6 separate regions of the Homo sapiens genome follow, and all the other regions are linked to region 2. The links are contacts of gene promoters, found by promoter capture Hi-C in blood cells and fetal thymus (Javierre and others, 2016). All regions are on one chromosome and are shown on one strand. The core of a region is centred on a gene start or on the middle of the fragment in contact, and the rest is flanking DNA. Distances in the headings are between cores, read along the strand shown.

The links. Contacts are between HindIII fragments. The CHiCAGO score rates a contact against its expected background, and 5 or more counts as called.
Region 1: a fragment that was not itself captured here is called in contact with the fragment with the promoter of ACTA1 in region 2 in 1 of 17 cell types (total CD4 T cells); the score reaches 5.6 in total CD4 T cells.
Region 3: a fragment that was not itself captured here is called in contact with the fragment with the promoter of ACTA1 in region 2 in 5 of 17 cell types (total CD8 T cells, non-activated CD4 T cells, total CD4 T cells and 2 more); the score reaches 6.4 in total CD8 T cells.
Region 4: a fragment that was not itself captured here is called in contact with the fragment with the promoter of ACTA1 in region 2 in 14 of 17 cell types (M2 macrophages, M0 macrophages, total CD8 T cells and 11 more); the score reaches 11.8 in M2 macrophages.
Region 5: a contact is called between the fragment with the promoter of RHOU here and the fragment with the promoter of ACTA1 in region 2, in 17 of 17 cell types (naive CD8 T cells, total CD4 T cells, non-activated CD4 T cells and 14 more). The highest score is 22.6, in naive CD8 T cells.
Region 6: a fragment that was not itself captured here is called in contact with the fragment with the promoter of ACTA1 in region 2 in 9 of 17 cell types (total CD8 T cells, naive CD4 T cells, naive CD8 T cells and 6 more); the score reaches 12.1 in total CD8 T cells.

The regions. Positions count from the first base shown.
Region 1 is chr1:228,684,035-228,686,765 of GRCh38, reverse strand. It overlaps a transcript of RHOU not described here. Among named protein-coding and RNA genes, the nearest start is that of RHOU, 50 kb to the left of the region's middle. The HindIII fragment of the contact is 9,589 bases long and covers 1-2,731 here.
Region 2 is chr1:229,432,844-229,435,543 of GRCh38, reverse strand. It overlaps ACTA1 (actin alpha 1, skeletal muscle), which reads left to right and starts at 1,450. Exons shown (of 7, transcript NM_001100.4): 1 at 1,450-1,540; 2 at 2,417-2,557; 3 at 2,664-2,700. The coding sequence starts at 2,429. RefSeq lists a silencer at 1,448-1,742. The HindIII fragment of the contact is 9,477 bases long and covers 1-2,700 here.
Region 3 is chr1:228,717,713-228,720,422 of GRCh38, reverse strand. It overlaps a transcript of RHOU not described here. Among named protein-coding and RNA genes, the nearest start is that of RHOU, 16 kb to the left of the region's middle. The HindIII fragment of the contact is 4,933 bases long and covers 1-2,710 here.
Region 4 is chr1:228,663,301-228,666,019 of GRCh38, reverse strand. It overlaps a transcript of RHOU not described here. Among named protein-coding and RNA genes, the nearest start is that of RHOU, 71 kb to the left of the region's middle. The HindIII fragment of the contact is 596 bases long and covers 1,064-1,659 here.
Region 5 is chr1:228,734,088-228,736,787 of GRCh38, reverse strand. It overlaps RHOU (ras homolog family member U), which reads right to left and starts at 1,309. Exons shown (of 3, transcript NM_021205.6): 1 at 784-1,309. The coding sequence starts at 1,045. The HindIII fragment of the contact is 4,915 bases long and covers 1-2,495 here.
Region 6 is chr1:228,701,258-228,703,998 of GRCh38, reverse strand. It overlaps a transcript of RHOU not described here. Among named protein-coding and RNA genes, the nearest start is that of RHOU, 33 kb to the left of the region's middle. The HindIII fragment of the contact is 186 bases long and covers 1,174-1,359 here.

The DNA.
Region 1 (2,731 bases), core at 90-2,589, 750 kb after region 2:
CCCTCTCAAAAAAAAATTCTCCCTTGCTTTTTGGTTGGGATTATCAAGGCTTTAAAAGTTAGGAATTTAACATTTTAAGAGCTGACTCTGTTGCCAGACCAGACCTTTAAAAAGCCATTGCTTTTCATAGCAAAAACCGCAATGAGTTTTGCACCGACCCAATACTAAAAGAGGGCAAGTGCTCACCATGGCTTGCACTAAATATCAGTTGTCTCATGGTGTAGGAGAGTATTCCTCTAGATTTCTGAAACTGAAATTCAGAAATATATTGTCAAACATAATAGGTTTTAAACTGCAAATATGTAATTATTGTATTTTATATATTTTTATTGTTTTATTGCCATTTTAGAAATTTTAAGCATACAATTCAATGGCATTAATTATATTCATAATGTTGTACAACTATCACCACTATTTCCAAAATATTTCATCTCCTCAAACAGAAACTCTTTATTATAATAATATTAGTTAATAAAACACATTGAGTAACTACAAAGTACTAATCACTATATAGCTATTGTTTCATTTAAATATCATAGAAACCTCATGAGTTAGTTATTTTTATTTTATTCATGAAGAAGTTGAAGATAAGGGAGATTTAACTAATTCCTCTAAATCTAATAAGTAGCAAAATTATAACTAAAACTCAAATATAACACAACCCTATAAGCAAGTCAGATTTTGGGGTCAATGGACTAATACAAAAGTCTGATCACTAACTTACATTGTGTTTCCTCTTAATGGTTTTATTTCATCTTCATATAATAAGATGTCAAAGTGTAAAACTCTGATCTTATAAACTCTGATCAGAATAAAATTACTAAGATTCTTGGCTTTAAAAATGCTTCCATTTACAGATTCTTTTAATAATAGCTCTGGGGATAATTAAGGGTTGCACTAGATTAACTCTTGAAGAGAAAGGAGTCGGTAGACAAAAAAGTTCTGAGTGTCAAATGCTACTGATTAAGGGTTTCACTAAAGGAGAACAAAGAGGTTTTTCAATTAGAATGTAAGTCAATGAGAAGATTAATTTTGATTAACAGAAATACATTTAACCTATATATAATTTTAACAGGAAGATATATATTCACATACAGTCATTTCATGAGTCTCTGAATACTTTAGTTATCTTCTAAAACTCTCAAATTCCCCAGTAAATTCTCAGAGCAGTATCCTATCATTCTCTGGCTCCAAATGCTCAATAGATTTCCATTTTAATTTTTCACAGAATCAACCATCCAGAGAATGGTGCTCCATTTGGTTCCAGTTTTGTTTCTCCTAATTTCCCTTTGTGGTCATTTCTCTTTACAGCATTTGCTCTCTTTCTAGTCTCTCACTCTGAGTTTCAGTTTCCAAGTATTTGTTAAAACTCATTCCCAAATTCCTACTGTCAGAGGCATTGGAACCAGAGCAACTCCATCTTAATAGAGGCTGGGTAAAATAAGGCTGAGGCCTACTGGGCTGCATTCCCAGACACTTAAGGCATTCTAAGTCACAGGATGAGATAAGAAGTCAGCACAAGATACAGGTCATAAAGACCTTGCTGACAGAACAGACTGCAGTAAAGAAGCCAGCCAAAACCCACCAATACCAAGATGGCAATGAGAGTGACCTCTGGTCATCCTCACTGCTACGCTCCTACCAGCACCATGGCAGTTTACAAATGTCATGGCAATGTCAGGAAGTTACCCTATATAGCCTAAAAATGGGAGACATAAATAATGCACCCGTTGTTTAGAATATCATCAAAAAATAACCATAGAAATAGGCAACCAGCAGCTCTCGGAGTAGCTGGTCTGCTCTGTCTATGGAGTAGCCGTTCTTTTATTCCTCCACTTTCCTAGTAAACTTGCTTTCACTTTACAAACTCGTCCTGAATTCTTTCTTACACAAGATCAAGAACACTCTCTTAGGGTCTGAGCTATTATCGGGACCGTTTCCTGGAACAGCACCACGTTCCCTTTTGGTCTGCAAGCCAGAAACTGGAAGTCATCCTTGTGGTTCCTTCTCCCTCACCCTCACAACTACTCTATTACCAGAGCCTGCATGTTTTTTCCTGCCTTATGGGGGTGGCTGCAAAATCTAGCACCCAAACAGGAACGATTCTGAGAGTGAAAAGGACTAATATTAACAGTTATGTCAGCAGGGCACAGTAGATCACGCCTGTAATCCCAATACTTAGGCCGAGACACGTGGATCACTTGAGCCCAGGAGTTCAAAACTAGCCTGGCCAACATGGCAAAACACCATTTCTACAAAAAATACAAAAATTAGCCGGGCATGGTGGTGCACGCCTGTAGTCCCAGCTACTCAGGGGGCTGCGGTGGAAGGATCACTTTAGCCCAGGAGGTGGAGGTTGCAATGTGCCAGATCTTGCCACTGCACTCCAGCCTGGATGACACATGAGACCTAGTCTCAAAAAACAAACTGGCCAGGCGCAGTGGCTCACATGGGTAATCTCAGCACAGTGGGAGGCTGAGGCGGGAGGATCACCTGAGGTCAGCAGTTCAAGACCAGCCTGGCCATCAGGGTGAAACCCTATCGCTACTAAAAATACAAAAATTAGACCATCATGGTGGCACACACCTGTAATCCCAGCTATCAGGAGGCTGAGGCAGGAGAATTGCTTGAACCTGGGAGCTGGAGGTTGCAGTGAGCCGAGATCATGCCACTGCACTCCAGCCTGGGCGACAGAGCAAGACTCCGTCTCAAAAAGAAAGAAAGAAACAAA
Region 2 (2,700 bases), core at 201-2,700:
GGTTAGAACTGTCCTTGTCTTAGGGAAAAAGGAGAGAGAGAGAGAGAGAGAGAGAGAGAGAGAGAGAGAGAGAGAGAGAGAGGGACAGGCACCAACTGGGTAACCTCTGCTGACCCCCACTCTACTTTACCATAAGTAGCTCCAAATCCTTCTAGAAAATCTGAAAGGCATAGCCCCATATATCAGTGATATAAATAGAACCTGCAGCAGGCTCTGGTAAATGATGACTACAAGGTGGACTGGGAGGCAGCCCGGCCTTGGCAGGCATCATCCTCTAAATATAAAGATGAGTTTGTTCAGCCTTTGCAGAAGGAAAAACTGCCACCCATCCTAGAGTGCCGCGTCCTTGTCCCCCCACCCCCTCCAATTTATTGGGAGGAAGGACCAGCTAAGCCTCATCTAGGAAGAGCCCCTCACCCATCTCCACCTCCACTCCAGGTCTAGCCAGTCCTGGGTTGTGACCCTTGTCTTTCAGCCCCAGGAGAGGGACACACATAGTGCCACCAAAGAGGCTGGGGGAGGGCCTCAGCCCACCAAAACCTGGGGCCAGTGCGTCCTACAGGAGGGGAACCCTCACCCCTTCAATCCCTTTAGGAGACCCAAGGGCGCTGCGCGTCCCTGAGGCGGACAGCTCCGTGTGCTCAGGCTTTGCGCCTGACAGGCCTATCCCCGGGAGCCCCCGCGCCTCCTCCCCGGCGCTCCGCCCTCGCCTCCCCCCGCCAGTTGTCTATCCTGCGACAGCTGCGCGCCCTCCGGCCGCCGGTGGCCCTCTGTGCGGTGGGGGAAGGGGTCGACGTGGCTCAGCTTTTTGGATTCAGGGAGCTCGGGGGTGGGAAGAGAGAAATGGAGTTCCAGGGGCGTAAAGGAGAGGGAGTTCGCCTTCCTTCCCTTCCTGAGACTCAGGAGTGACTGCTTCTCCAATCCTCCCAAGCCCACCACTCCACACGACTCCCTCTTCCCGGTAGTCGCAAGTGGGAGTTTGGGGATCTGAGCAAAGAACCCGAAGAGGAGTTGAAATATTGGAAGTCAGCAGTCAGGCACCTTCCCGAGCGCCCAGGGCGCTCAGAGTGGACATGGTTGGGGAGGCCTTTGGGACAGGTGCGGTTCCCGGAGCGCAGGCGCACACATGCACCCACCGGCGAACGCGGTGACCCTCGCCCCACCCCATCCCCTCCGGCGGGCAACTGGGTCGGGTCAGGAGGGGCAAACCCGCTAGGGAGACACTCCATATACGGCCCGGCCCGCGTTACCTGGGACCGGGCCAACCCGCTCCTTCTTTGGTCAACGCAGGGGACCCGGGCGGGGGCCCAGGCCGCGAACCGGCCGAGGGAGGGGGCTCTAGTGCCCAACACCCAAATATGGCTCGAGAAGGGCAGCGACATTCCTGCGGGGTGGCGCGGAGGGAATGCCCGCGGGCTATATAAAACCTGAGCAGAGGGACAAGCGGCCACCGCAGCGGACAGCGCCAAGTGAAGCCTCGCTTCCCCTCCGCGGCGACCAGGGCCCGAGCCGAGAGTAGCAGTTGTAGCTACCCGCCCAGGTAGGGCAGGAGTTGGGAGGGGACAGGGGGACAGGGCACTACCGAGGGGAACCTGAAGGACTCCGGGGCAGAACCCAGTCGGTTCACCTGGTCAGCCCCAGGCCTGCGCCCTGAGCGCTGTGCCTCGTCTCCGGAGCCACACGCGCTTTAAAAAGGAGGCAAGACAGTCAGCCTCTGGAAATTAGACTTCTCCAAATTTTTCTCTAGCCCCTTTGGGCTCCTTTACCTGGCATGTAGGATGTGCCTAGGGAGATAAACGGTTTTGCTTTAGTTGTCGCCAAGGCAGTTCCCTTCCAAACTAGCGCTAGAGCGAATGAGCGAGCAGCCAGGACCACCCATTCTGGGTTTCCAACAGGCGAAAAGGCCCTTTCTGAGTTTGAAATGTCACAGGGTTCCTAACAGGCCACTCTTCCCTGGATGGGGTGCCAACGCCTTTCCCATGGGCATCTCCTTCCACCCTCACGCTGGCCCAGCAAGCAGGCAGTGCTGAGGCCTTATCTCCCTAGGTGACAGATGTGGTCAGGGAGGCGCAGAGAGGATGGGCACTAGCGTCCAGCTCCTGGAACAGGTGTCAGGCAGGGAGGGCAGACAGGTCTTGGGGAACATGTTCCCCTGGCTATGTGGACAGAGGACTTCTCAGTGGGGTCTCGCGACCCTGTGCCCCTTTTCCTGGTTCAGGGCAGCCCTTAGCCGGGGCAAAGGTCGAGAAGAGAACCCCTGGTCGCCGCCCTGGCAGAATTTGAGTGGCTCCGGCAGGAGATGTCCCTAGGTTCCTGGGGAGGGAGGACGTCGGGGCCAGCCAGGCTTACCCCCCCCTGCCGCTGAGACTTCTGCGCTGATGCACCGCGCCTCTTCGCGGTCTCCCTGTCCTTGCAGAAACTAGACACAATGTGCGACGAAGACGAGACCACCGCCCTCGTGTGCGACAATGGCTCCGGCCTGGTGAAAGCCGGCTTCGCCGGGGATGACGCCCCTAGGGCCGTGTTCCCGTCCATCGTGGGCCGCCCCCGACACCAGGTCAGGCTGCCCCTCCGCAGAGGGAGCCGGCTCGGGGTCCCCGCGTAAGCCAGCCTGGTGCCACCCGGAGCGGCGTTAACGGGTGCGTGGTGTCTCGGCTCTGCAGGGCGTCATGGTCGGTATGGGTCAGAAAGATTCCTACG
Region 3 (2,710 bases), core at 141-2,640, 720 kb after region 2:
ACTTCAACATATGAATTTTGGGGAGACAAAATTTATATATTTTGGATATATGAATTCAAATTTCAGCTCATAACCATGTAGATAATCTTACTTGTACTTCTTCTATGCTTATGCTATGATAGTATGTATTATGTATGGAAAATTACATGATAATCAATTTTCTGTTGTTTTAAAATGTTTGTTGTTTGTACACACACAAAAAACTGTGCTGAAGTGCCCATAATCTAATAGGAGTCCTTTTTTTTCTTTTAATTTTCTGTAGAGACGGGGTCTCGCTATGTTGCCCAGGCTGGTATCAAACTCCTGGCCTCAAGTGATCCTCCTGCTTTAGCCTCCAAAGTTGCTCGGATTATGGACATGAGCCACCTTGCCTGGCTTCTAATAGGAATTCTTATGATTATACTGTGAGACCAAATATAAATGTTCATAAAAGGGTGCTTATGTCTAACTTTTTTAAAAGATACGGCGATATTTTAATGTAATTTTCTTGGATTATTTTAGGTCTGCTTGGGAGCAATGATAGTATTCTCAAAAGAAGTAATAACCAGTGCAGGTCAGGAGAGAAAGCTACTGAATTAAGAAAAGATAAATTATTTAAAGGTAAATCAAAAGGACTGGCCAACCTGAATTCAGTTGCAGTTTTATCATTTTTTTTGTTGTTGTTGTTTGCTTGTATGTTTTTTGTTTTGTTTTAAGACAGAGTCATGTTCTGTCGCCCGGGCTGGAGTGCAGTGGTGTGATCCCAGCTCACTGCAAACTCCACCCCCAGGGTTCAAGTGATCCTCCCTCCTTAGCCTCCCAAGTAGCTGGGATTACAAGTGTGCACCACCATGCCCGGCTAATTTTTATATTTTTAGTAGAGGTGGGGTTTCACCATGTTGGCCAGGCTGGTCTCGAACTCCAGACCTCAAGTGATTCACCAACCTCAGCTTTCCAAAGTGCGGGGACTACAGGCGTGAGCCACCACACCCAGCCCAATTATTAATTGTGTGATTTTGAGCCTCAGTAAATATTAGTTCCCTTTTCCTTGATTAGTGTGATAATATACTCCAGAAACAGAATAGTGTGCTAATGACTTTTGGAAAACACACGATTTTATAAATTGAAAATCCAACAGTTTTTATTGTTTCTTTAGAGAATCAAGGCACAAAGTAAATGATCAATAAACATTGGATGAATGCATGGATTGATGAATACATGGATTGATCAACCAATGGATAGATAGGAAAGCAAAATGATACAGGAATATAGAAGGATGTTTTTCTAAGTCTCACTTGATCTGAACTGTAACCAAATATTGACATGGCTGGTGAAGCCATCAGGATACTCCACTCCTCCTCCTTCTACTCTCATATACCCCCTCCAACATAGGTGCTGTAGAATAGATGCCATTAAAGGGCTTTCTAAAATTAAATTTCAAACCTTTTAGACGATATATTCTGTTTTAAAGCCATACTTCCTTTTGATCTCTCAACTGGCTGATTTGAGTTGGTGCTGACACCAGATTTAGTTCACTCCCTCTCAAAACCTGCTTCCCTGCCTAGTAAGAGATGCACTCCCTCCTGCAGTGAGCATCCAGGGTCACCCGCAGTGGACATTCCCAGTTCATGTTCTGGCGGAAGTGTTTATAGCAGTCTACAACCAACCTGGTCCTCCTGGTTCACACCTTAGACTCTAGGCTTCTGGATGAGAAAGACAGTTTTCTAAGTTCTCTCACATAGTCTGCATCTGAGCTTTAAACCACCTTGTACTTATTCTGCATATGCTTCCCTCCTTTCAGAAAGTTCCCTAAGACTCTGGGCCTCTACTTGTCTAATACTTGTTTCAACCCATTTCTTTATCCTGTTGATAAAGGCAGTTTTGATGCTTACTGAAGCTCAGCTTTTTCTACACTCTTCTAGACTGGCAAAGGGCATATCTAAGACAGCCCCAATAATCCTGCCTCCTGGAATTCATGAGTCTCATGAGTCAGAACCACCCAATTAAACTGCTCCCCAATTCCTAACTCACATAAACTTGTTGTTTTCAGCCATTATATTCTGGGCTAATTTTTTAGGTGGCAATAGATAACTAATATACTTCCCAAGCTGTCCAAACCTTAATTGTAGATTCCATCTGTCCTTAAAACTTATTTGCATCATCCTACCATCTTCCCAGCATGGCTACAAGCAAACTTCTTGATTCTCCCTATTTCAAAGCTGTTCTTTCTCCTAAGCCCATTCACTGGAAAGCAATGGATGCATCTTTTTTGGAGGACGTAGGGGAACTCAGGGTATCACCACTTCCTGTCACCTCCCCAGGTTCTCATTATGATCTCTAATTTAAGTGTCCCCAAGGAAATGGTCTTTTGGAATCCTATTTTTAAATACTGAGTTATCTATCTTTACTATGTAGAATAAGAACAGACATAATGTTCTCAAAGGAGGTCAGCCCAGATGAAATGATTGATACATATGTCCTATCCTTTATATTCAGACATGACACTACCCTGCTGGTCCAATGTGTTAATGGAGGGCATGGAATTACCCGAATTTTTTATTGTGTCCAGTTCTTCTGATCTTGAATTAACTTTTTAAATGACTGGCTGGATTCATGGGAGCTGTCCATGGAACAGTTCCTGTGTCCAGAAACACATAACTGGATTAGGTTGAGAAGGAAGTAGGGCGCCACTCTCATTAACTGAAATGACTGGCCACCAATAAAATATCTG
Region 4 (2,719 bases), core at 112-2,611, 770 kb after region 2:
CACCACTGCACTCCAGCCTTGGTGAGAGCAAGGTTCTGTCAAAAAAAAAAGAACACTTCTAGATGCTGGGGTGAAGAAGGCTTTTGTCCATCTTGTGTTAATTATGACCTTTTTATTCTGTATTTTTGATGCTTTGACATCTTGGGGCCTTGCTGACCCTGGAGGGACTGCTTTCTCCCAGGGTAGAAGGTATTACTATTTGAACCACTAGACTGAGTCAAAATGATCTGTCCTCACCAATGTGGATAGGCATTATTCTTCCAATTCCTTGAAGGTCTCAACAGAACAAAAAGACAGGGGAAGGACAAATTTGCTCTTTATTCTGGAGCTAGGACATCCAACTTCTGCTCTCTGACATCAGAACTGCAGGTTCTCAATCCTGGGACTCTGGGACTCATATTAGTGTTCCCCATCCCACTCTACTCAAAGATATATTACTGTCCCCACTCCACTCAAAGATATATTACTGTTCCCCACTCCACTCTACCAAAGATACCTGATTTGAGTCACTCAGAAGACTAGGTAGGGGTTTATTGAGGGAGCTGGCAACCCATCCCCGACATGTGTGACCCAGCCAGAACCAGAGCAGTAGGAGCCTCACTGCCTTCACCCTAGTGCTGCCACGTAGAGCAGCTAGAGCCTCTCCTGTGGACTCAAGCCTGACAGTGGGAGTTCCCTTGGGAAGGTAGGATCACCTTCACCTCTTTATCTTGGTTTCTTTATCGGTACAATGGAAATGGTAATAATAGTACCTAAATCTTGGGGTTATCATAAAGATTAAAGTAATTAAAGCATGTGAAGTGCTTAGACCATGCCTAGTGCATAGCAGGCACTTTATAATCATTTACTTCAATAAAAACATAGGTCCTGGAGCCAAAGGCTTGACCTTAATTGATATGTGAACCAGGTAAAAGTCACTTAGCCATTCTGAGTTTCAGTTTTCTTATTTGTAAAATGAAAATAAAATAGTACCTATCTTGAAGGGTTTTCATGAAGATTAAATAAGCTAATAGGAAGAAATCACCATAACAGCCTGGCACCACAAATGTTAGTTAATAAAGCTTGGCAAGCCGGGCACGGTGGCTCACACCTGTAATCCCAGCACTTTGGGAGGCCGAGGCGGATGGATCACCTGAGGTCGGTGGATCACCTGAGGTCAGGATTTCGAGACCAAAATGGCCAACATGGTGAAACCCCATCTCTACCAAAATACAAAAAATTAGCCGGTCATGGTGGCAGGCGCCTGTAAACCCAGCTACTCGGGAGGCTGAAGCAGAAGAATTGCTTGAACCTGGGAGACGGAGGTTGCAATGAGCTGAGATTGCGCCATTGCACTCCAGCCTGGGCAACAAGGACAAACCTCTGTCTCAAAATCAATCAATCTTGGCAATGAACACGGGTTCCTCCTGGCAAAGGTTTTGGCTCTGTGGGGTAATGCTGCCCTCTGCCGGACAATTTGGTTTCTTGCTTTGTTTGTTTTAATAAACTGTTGGGTTTTTTCCCAAAGTCCCACCCCACCTAGCAAAAAGGTTAACATTCTTCATAAAGATTATTTTCTCAGAATACGTTTCTGAGAAAATGAGTACAAACATGATTTGTTGATTCGCTATCCGCAAATGGCTTTCCTCATTTGAGGAACAAATGAGCCACTTGGAAGCTTACTTGGGCTGCAATTTTATTTCCAATTTTATCTTTATGAAGAAATCCAGGCCGAGCGCAGCGGCTCACACCTGTAATCCCAACACTTTGGGAGGCCGAGGAGGGCCGATGCCCAGGAGTTCGAGACCAGCCTGGGAAATATGGAGAAACCTCGCCTCTACAAAAACTACAAAAAATTAGCCGAGCCTGGTGGCACACATCTGTAGTCCCAGCTACTCGGTAGGCTGAAGTGGGAGATCACGCGAGCCCGAGAGGTCAAGACTGCAGTGAGCCGTGATAGTGCCACTGCTCTCCAGCCTGGGCGACAGAAGATAAGAAAAGAAGAGAAGGGAAGAGAAAAAAAGGAGAGGGGAGAGGAGGGGAGGGGAGGGGAGGGGAGGGAAGGGGAGGGGAGGGGAGGGGAGAAGAAAAAGAAATCCAGCTATGTTGGCCGGGCGTGGCGGCTCGCGCCTGTAATCCCAGCACTTTGAGAGGCCAAGGCGGGTGGATCACTTGAGGTCAGGAGTTCGGGACCAGCCTGGCCAACATGGTGAAGCCCCGTCTCTACTAAAAATACAAAAATTAGCCAGGTATGGTGTCGCGCGCGCGTAATCCCAGCTACGTGGGAGGCTGAGGCAGGAGAATCGCTTGATCTCGGGAGGCGGAGGTTGCAGTGAGTTGAGATCATGCCACTGCACCCCAGCCTGGGGGACAGAGTGAAATTCCGTCTCAAAAAAAAAAAAAAAAAAAAAAAAAGAAAAGAAAAGAAAAGAAAAGAAAAACAGAAAAGAAAAATAAAAATAAAGAAAAATAATGTCAGCTATGTGTTGAGATATTGCTGCTTAATTTTTTTTAACTTTTCTTTTTTCTTCTTAAACTCAATAGTAAGAATATGCTTAACTTTTCCGATTTTCCTTATTATTGCTTTCCTATGAGTTGAGAATATTGTGATAAGTGCCTAGTCTGGTAATTTGCACACACATTGTATTCTCTTGTTACAGTTACAGTGTGATAAAATAAATAAATGAAAAGTCATAGCATGGCAAAAAGTATAGCACTTGAAACACTGTAGTGTGCTAGT
Region 5 (2,700 bases), core at 60-2,559, 700 kb after region 2:
TAACTTTTTCTTAAATTTCAAAAAGACCTGAATAGCAAGATAGAGAATTCCTTTCTCTTTGTATCTACCAAGGGAAATGGCATCGCACCCGGTACATAGGAGCTTTAAGTAGCTTAAAGGGATCCTGAAAAGATACCAACAATCAGAATCCGAGCCCATGTGGGCAGGGAAGGTGGTGGGGCTCAGAAGAAAGAAATGGTGTTTACTCTTCAGGTTTCATCCAAACCTAAGCCTTCACGAGGGCCGCTCGCGCTTTTTCACTAAATCAAGTGTTTTCCCGGCGTCTCCGCGGCTCTTTAAAGCGGAGACGCCCCTTGTGAGCTGAGCCGCCTAAAAGCAAAGGAGCGACGCTCAGGTAAAGGCACCTGCGCGTCACCTTCTGATTGAAACTCTGCAGCGGCGCCAGCGACGTCGCCCTCAGGAAACTTTGCTCTATGCAACAAACTGACCGGGCACCCTGAACTCAACCTGTTTCACTCCTACTTATCTGTTGCTTAAATTGTGAGATTTTTTTTTTTTTTTTTTTTGGCAAGGCTCTGACTGCCGCTCCGCCCTCCTCTCTCCAAGCCCACTCCGCCGTGGTCCTTTCGTGTTAGCTCCGCGCTTGCCCGGTCCCTGAGACTCAGGAAACGTCCTGCACTCCTCATTTGTCCGGCTTCCCAGCTGGAGCCGCGCCCGGGGCCCTGCAGCCCCCTTGGGAACCTCGCGACCCTCGCGCCACCTTCCTTCCCCTGGGTGGACCGCGGCCACGCGCCCCCGGCCCCGGCCCCCCGGCCAGCTCACCGGAGAAGTTGTCGAAGGCAGTAGGGATGTACTCGGTGGGGTAGCCGTTGGTGGTGTAGCTCACCACCAGGCTCGTCTTGCCCACCGCGCCGTCGCCGACCAGCACGCACTTGACGCCGCGCCCCTCGGCACCCCCCGCACGCCCCCGGCCCCCCGGCTCCCCAGGCCCGCGTCCCCCGCGTCCACCGCGCTCCCGACGCGGCGGCACCGGAGGCGCCTCGCAGCGGTCGGGGAACGCGGGGTCCCCCTGCTGCGGGGGCATCGATCCGCGAGCGCGGGCTTGCGGTCGCGGGCTAGCAGGGCCCGGCCCGACCGCCCCTCCGCCCCGGAGGGTTGCGGTAGGGAGGAGCTGTCACCGACAGCTGCGGGCGCGTCCCCGGCCCTGGAGAGTGGCGGTTCCGGGCCGCACGGCCAGTAGACAAAGGCGGCCAGGGAGGGTCGTGGCTCCGCGCTCCGGCGGCGCCAGCCGCTCTGCCCTGCGCTGTTGGAGGACAGCGGTCCGAGCGCCGTGGATCCCAAGCGCTCTGTCTCCGCCCGGCTTCCCGGCGACACGACGCGTGGGGGGCGGGCAGGCGGGCGGGCTGGCGGGGAGGGAAAAGAGGCGGGTCTGGCCGAGCGGCTCGGTCCCCGCGCCAAGACCACAGCGCCCCCCGCCTGCGCGCCGCGCGCCTGCACCCGCGCCCGAGGCGCCGCCGCGACCAGGCGGGGACTGCGAACACTGGCGCGGGAGGACCTGGAACACACGTTCCGGGGGACCCCGCGCACCCGGTCCGGGAAGCGACGCCCGAAGGAGCCGGGCCAGCCTCCGCAGCCTCCTCCCCAGCTCCCAAGAGGGTGACCACCGCGCGACTGGCCCGGGAGGTTCCGCTTTCTGGCGCCCACGCGAGCCAGGAAGCCTGAGCCGCCTCCTATTCACTCCGTGGAGCCCCCGGCTGGCCACGGCTCCACCCAGGGGGAAAAATGAAGTGTCCTGGAGGCCTGTCCTGCGAATGAGATTGAATTAACAGACAGCTTTTTTCCTTAAGTCTAACTGCAGCTGATCGTGTGATTTTTTCTCATTTTGAAGCAAAAGGATGCCAGCTCCATTGTGAATGCTCCTTTGACTTTGTCTTTCGGCATGCCGTGAACCTTTATACATGTATGCTCCAGAAATTTTTTTATACCCCCAATTCCTTCATTTACTTAAAGGTAATTCGGAGACATTAATATGTCTGAAAAAATATTCCGTTTCCCTTTGATTCATTTCTCTCTCTGCCTTCCTTCTACATGTGGTCAACAGTCTATTCAGAAAAAGGACGCCTCTTAGCCAAGTCAGAATACCAAGAGTCCTGGGGGTGTACAGCGTGGTGTGAGAAGGGCCACATATTATTAATACACATTGATACTAGTGGTAGTAAAAATAACAATAACAAATACTGAACTTTCATAATGTGTCAGATACTGTTGTAAGCACTCTTCAAGAACTAATTCTTTTAATCTTAACATTACTTACAGATGAGAACACCTGAGGCACAGAGATATTAAGTAACGTTTTGGGATTCCACAAGCTAGTAAGTGGCAATGCCAGGATCCAAACCCAAATAGTCTAGCCCCAGAGCCTGAGCTTCTAACCAAAATCCTGGAGGCAAAAATAAGTCAGTATGATAAACGTAATCTTGAACGTATGGCCATGGTCAGAATGCAGAGATGGATTTATCAAGAAGTTAGAAGCTTGAATCCAGGACCCCTGACTTGCAAAGGACACTTTCACATTGGAAGACCTAGCAATGTGTACACGTGGTAATATGTTTCTGTAAATTTTGAAAAAAAAAAAAGTATTTTAATCACCACCAGTTATGTTCACTGTCTTTTTAAACTGTAACTTACCCTCATATTGAGTGACTTTGAAGAGGCCATGAAGATTTTGGGGATCAGCCA
Region 6 (2,741 bases), core at 17-2,516, 730 kb after region 2:
GTTCTATCTTTCCGTTGTCCACCAAGAATTTCCTTGTGGGCAAATTGTGAGGGAGGTATGTCACTTTTTATCTTTGTAGCTATCTTATTTAGGAATGAAATGGGAGGCAGGGTGCCTGACATAGGTCCCAGCTTGACTTTTCCCTTGGCTCAGTGATTTGGGGTCCTAAGATTTATTTTCCTTACACATATCCCAACCAAAGGCAAAAAGAAAGCTATCCTGGATACAGTGTTTATAAAAAGTAGGCCCTCAGATTAAATGGCCTTGATTCTTTTTCAAAGCTATCCATGCTAAGTCCAGGTATAGAGAATGCTTTAATTGCTGTGTTTCTTAATGAGCTCCATCCTGAACTCAGTAGTTTTAGCTAAGAAAAAGTAGCTAAGTTAAGAAGACCACCTATTAAACTAAAACAGTCTCTAAAATATACTTTTCTGGCATTTAGCTGGCTATCTTAAAACACTTTTTTTTTTTCAGAGATGGAGTCTCACTCTGTTGCCCAGTCTGGAGTGCAGTGGCGCGATCTCAGCTCACTGCAACCATCACCTCCCGGGTTCACGCCATTCTCCTGCCTCAGCCTCCCGAGTAGCTGGGACTACAGGTGCCCACCACCACACCTGGCTAATTTTTTCTATTTTTAGTAGAGACGGGGTTTCACCATGTTAGCCAGGATGGTCTCGATCTCCTGACCTCATGATCCGCGCGCCTCGGCCTCCCAAAGTGCTGGGATTACAGATGTGAGACGCCGCGCCTGGCCCCAAAACACTTTTATAGGAGAAATTTATATCTCTAAAAGAAATTTCCATTTGAAAGGGTGTCTGAGAGGGAGGACTGGGTCACTAGAAACTCTTACTGTTGTTTTAAATGTACATACATTGTCTTGCCTTTGTTTAAGGTGCTTTTCCAGGCCATGCTGCCTTAACCGGATCTTTATGTACAATCTTTTCCCTTGGTTTGAGCAACTGATAGTACAATATTTAGGCCTAAAATCTCAGCTCTGTGCTTTTGAGAATTTTCTACCTTGTTTCACCTAAGAGTCATCCCTTTAGGAGGCAGATTGTGGAGTAGCTAACAACTACTTAGAGCAATAAAACAGATAGTTCTAAGACTGATAGTATGAATGGGGAAAAGAAAAACTATTTGAAAGCTGACAAATGAGAATTCTTCATGGAAGCTTTAAGACCTGCTTGTGTCTATATGTCTATATGTGTATGTGATACTATTTGGTGAAGAAAGCTAGTTTTTAAATTGTTGGTAAAATAAAATAAAAAAATGACTTCAGAATTGTCACTTAAAGATAATATAGATATTTATGCCTGAGTCTACTGGTCAGACAGGTTTATGCTATCTCTGCTTCAAGCTTTAAGGTCATAAAACTTCTGCTTCTGTTATGTTTTTGATATTTGCTTGATTTGACTGTGAGCTTATGTTTTTGTTTTCCGAGCCTCTGGATTCTGGGGTCCAGACAGGTGACCTTGGTAACATATGGGGACATGTCCTCAGTGTCTATATCACCACCTACAGGGCACAGTCAAGCTCAAAATGACCCCTTTCTCCCTGGCCCAGCTTTGCCTCCTGGCCATTCTGTGAAGGGCTGAATGCTCCAGTCATCATCTTCATAGCTGTCTTCTGTCCTGAATTCTATACCTAGTATGTAAATTTAGGACCCAGATGGGACCTCCCCTTATAGCCATCCTAGGTGTCATGTGGCTACTTGAGACCCAGGATGACTGGGAAAAACATTAGAAAGGGTACTTGTATCATAGTATTAATATTCTTTTCAGTAATTTAAATCTTAAAGTCATATTATTTTAAATTAAGTACCAGATAATCATAAAATGTCTGAGTTTTTTTACAAGTATGTTAAAATACTAAAACATTAATTATTAAACATAAATTTAAGTTTATATAATTTGGCATCTTATTTTTCTGTGATATAAAAAAGCTAAATATATGTAGATCTGTTAATGAACAAAAATTTGAGCAAACATATCTTTGTAAAAATTATAAAATGGTTTTCATCTATAAATACTGATATAAAACAGTTCAGAATTACTTTTTAGACTTTTACTGAAAATTAGGGTGACTAAGAGTTAAAATTATAGTTAACATATGTAATTAAAACTACATATATAAGAGAATTCTATATACAAAGTGTACTAACAAAAAAGACATGCTTTGATTAAAAAAAAGCTGTAAAAGAATACAAATACATAGCTGTTGAGAAAAAATTACTTTGTCCAGTTTAGAAGTTACTTAAATATTATTTTACGATAAAAGAATTTTAAAAGATATAAATAAAACTAAATAATATTAAAAGTCAGGAAGAAAAAGAATTTTTAAAATTTTGTAAGAGATTATAAAACATTTATGAAATCTGCATGGTCAAAAGCTGACTGAGATTAGTTTGTTTATAAGGTTTTATTAAAATCAGCTTTAATATTGATAATTCATTAATACAAAAGCAAACTTTGGTTTTCTCTTTTAAACAAGATTTTTGTAAAGTAATAATAAGAGATAATAAAAAATTTTTGTTCACTTTTAGAGACATCTCAAAAAAAATGAGACAGCAAGAGGAGAAAAGGAGAGATAGATTCTGTCTAATGCTGTCTTTATTAGATATTTTAATCTTTGGGAAGACTGGGTCTCCTCTAATCAAAGAGTAAAAGTTTTTGCTTTTTAAAACCTTTTAATTATCACTAACAAATGGCTATTATTTTACAGTGACCTGTGGTCATACTTTG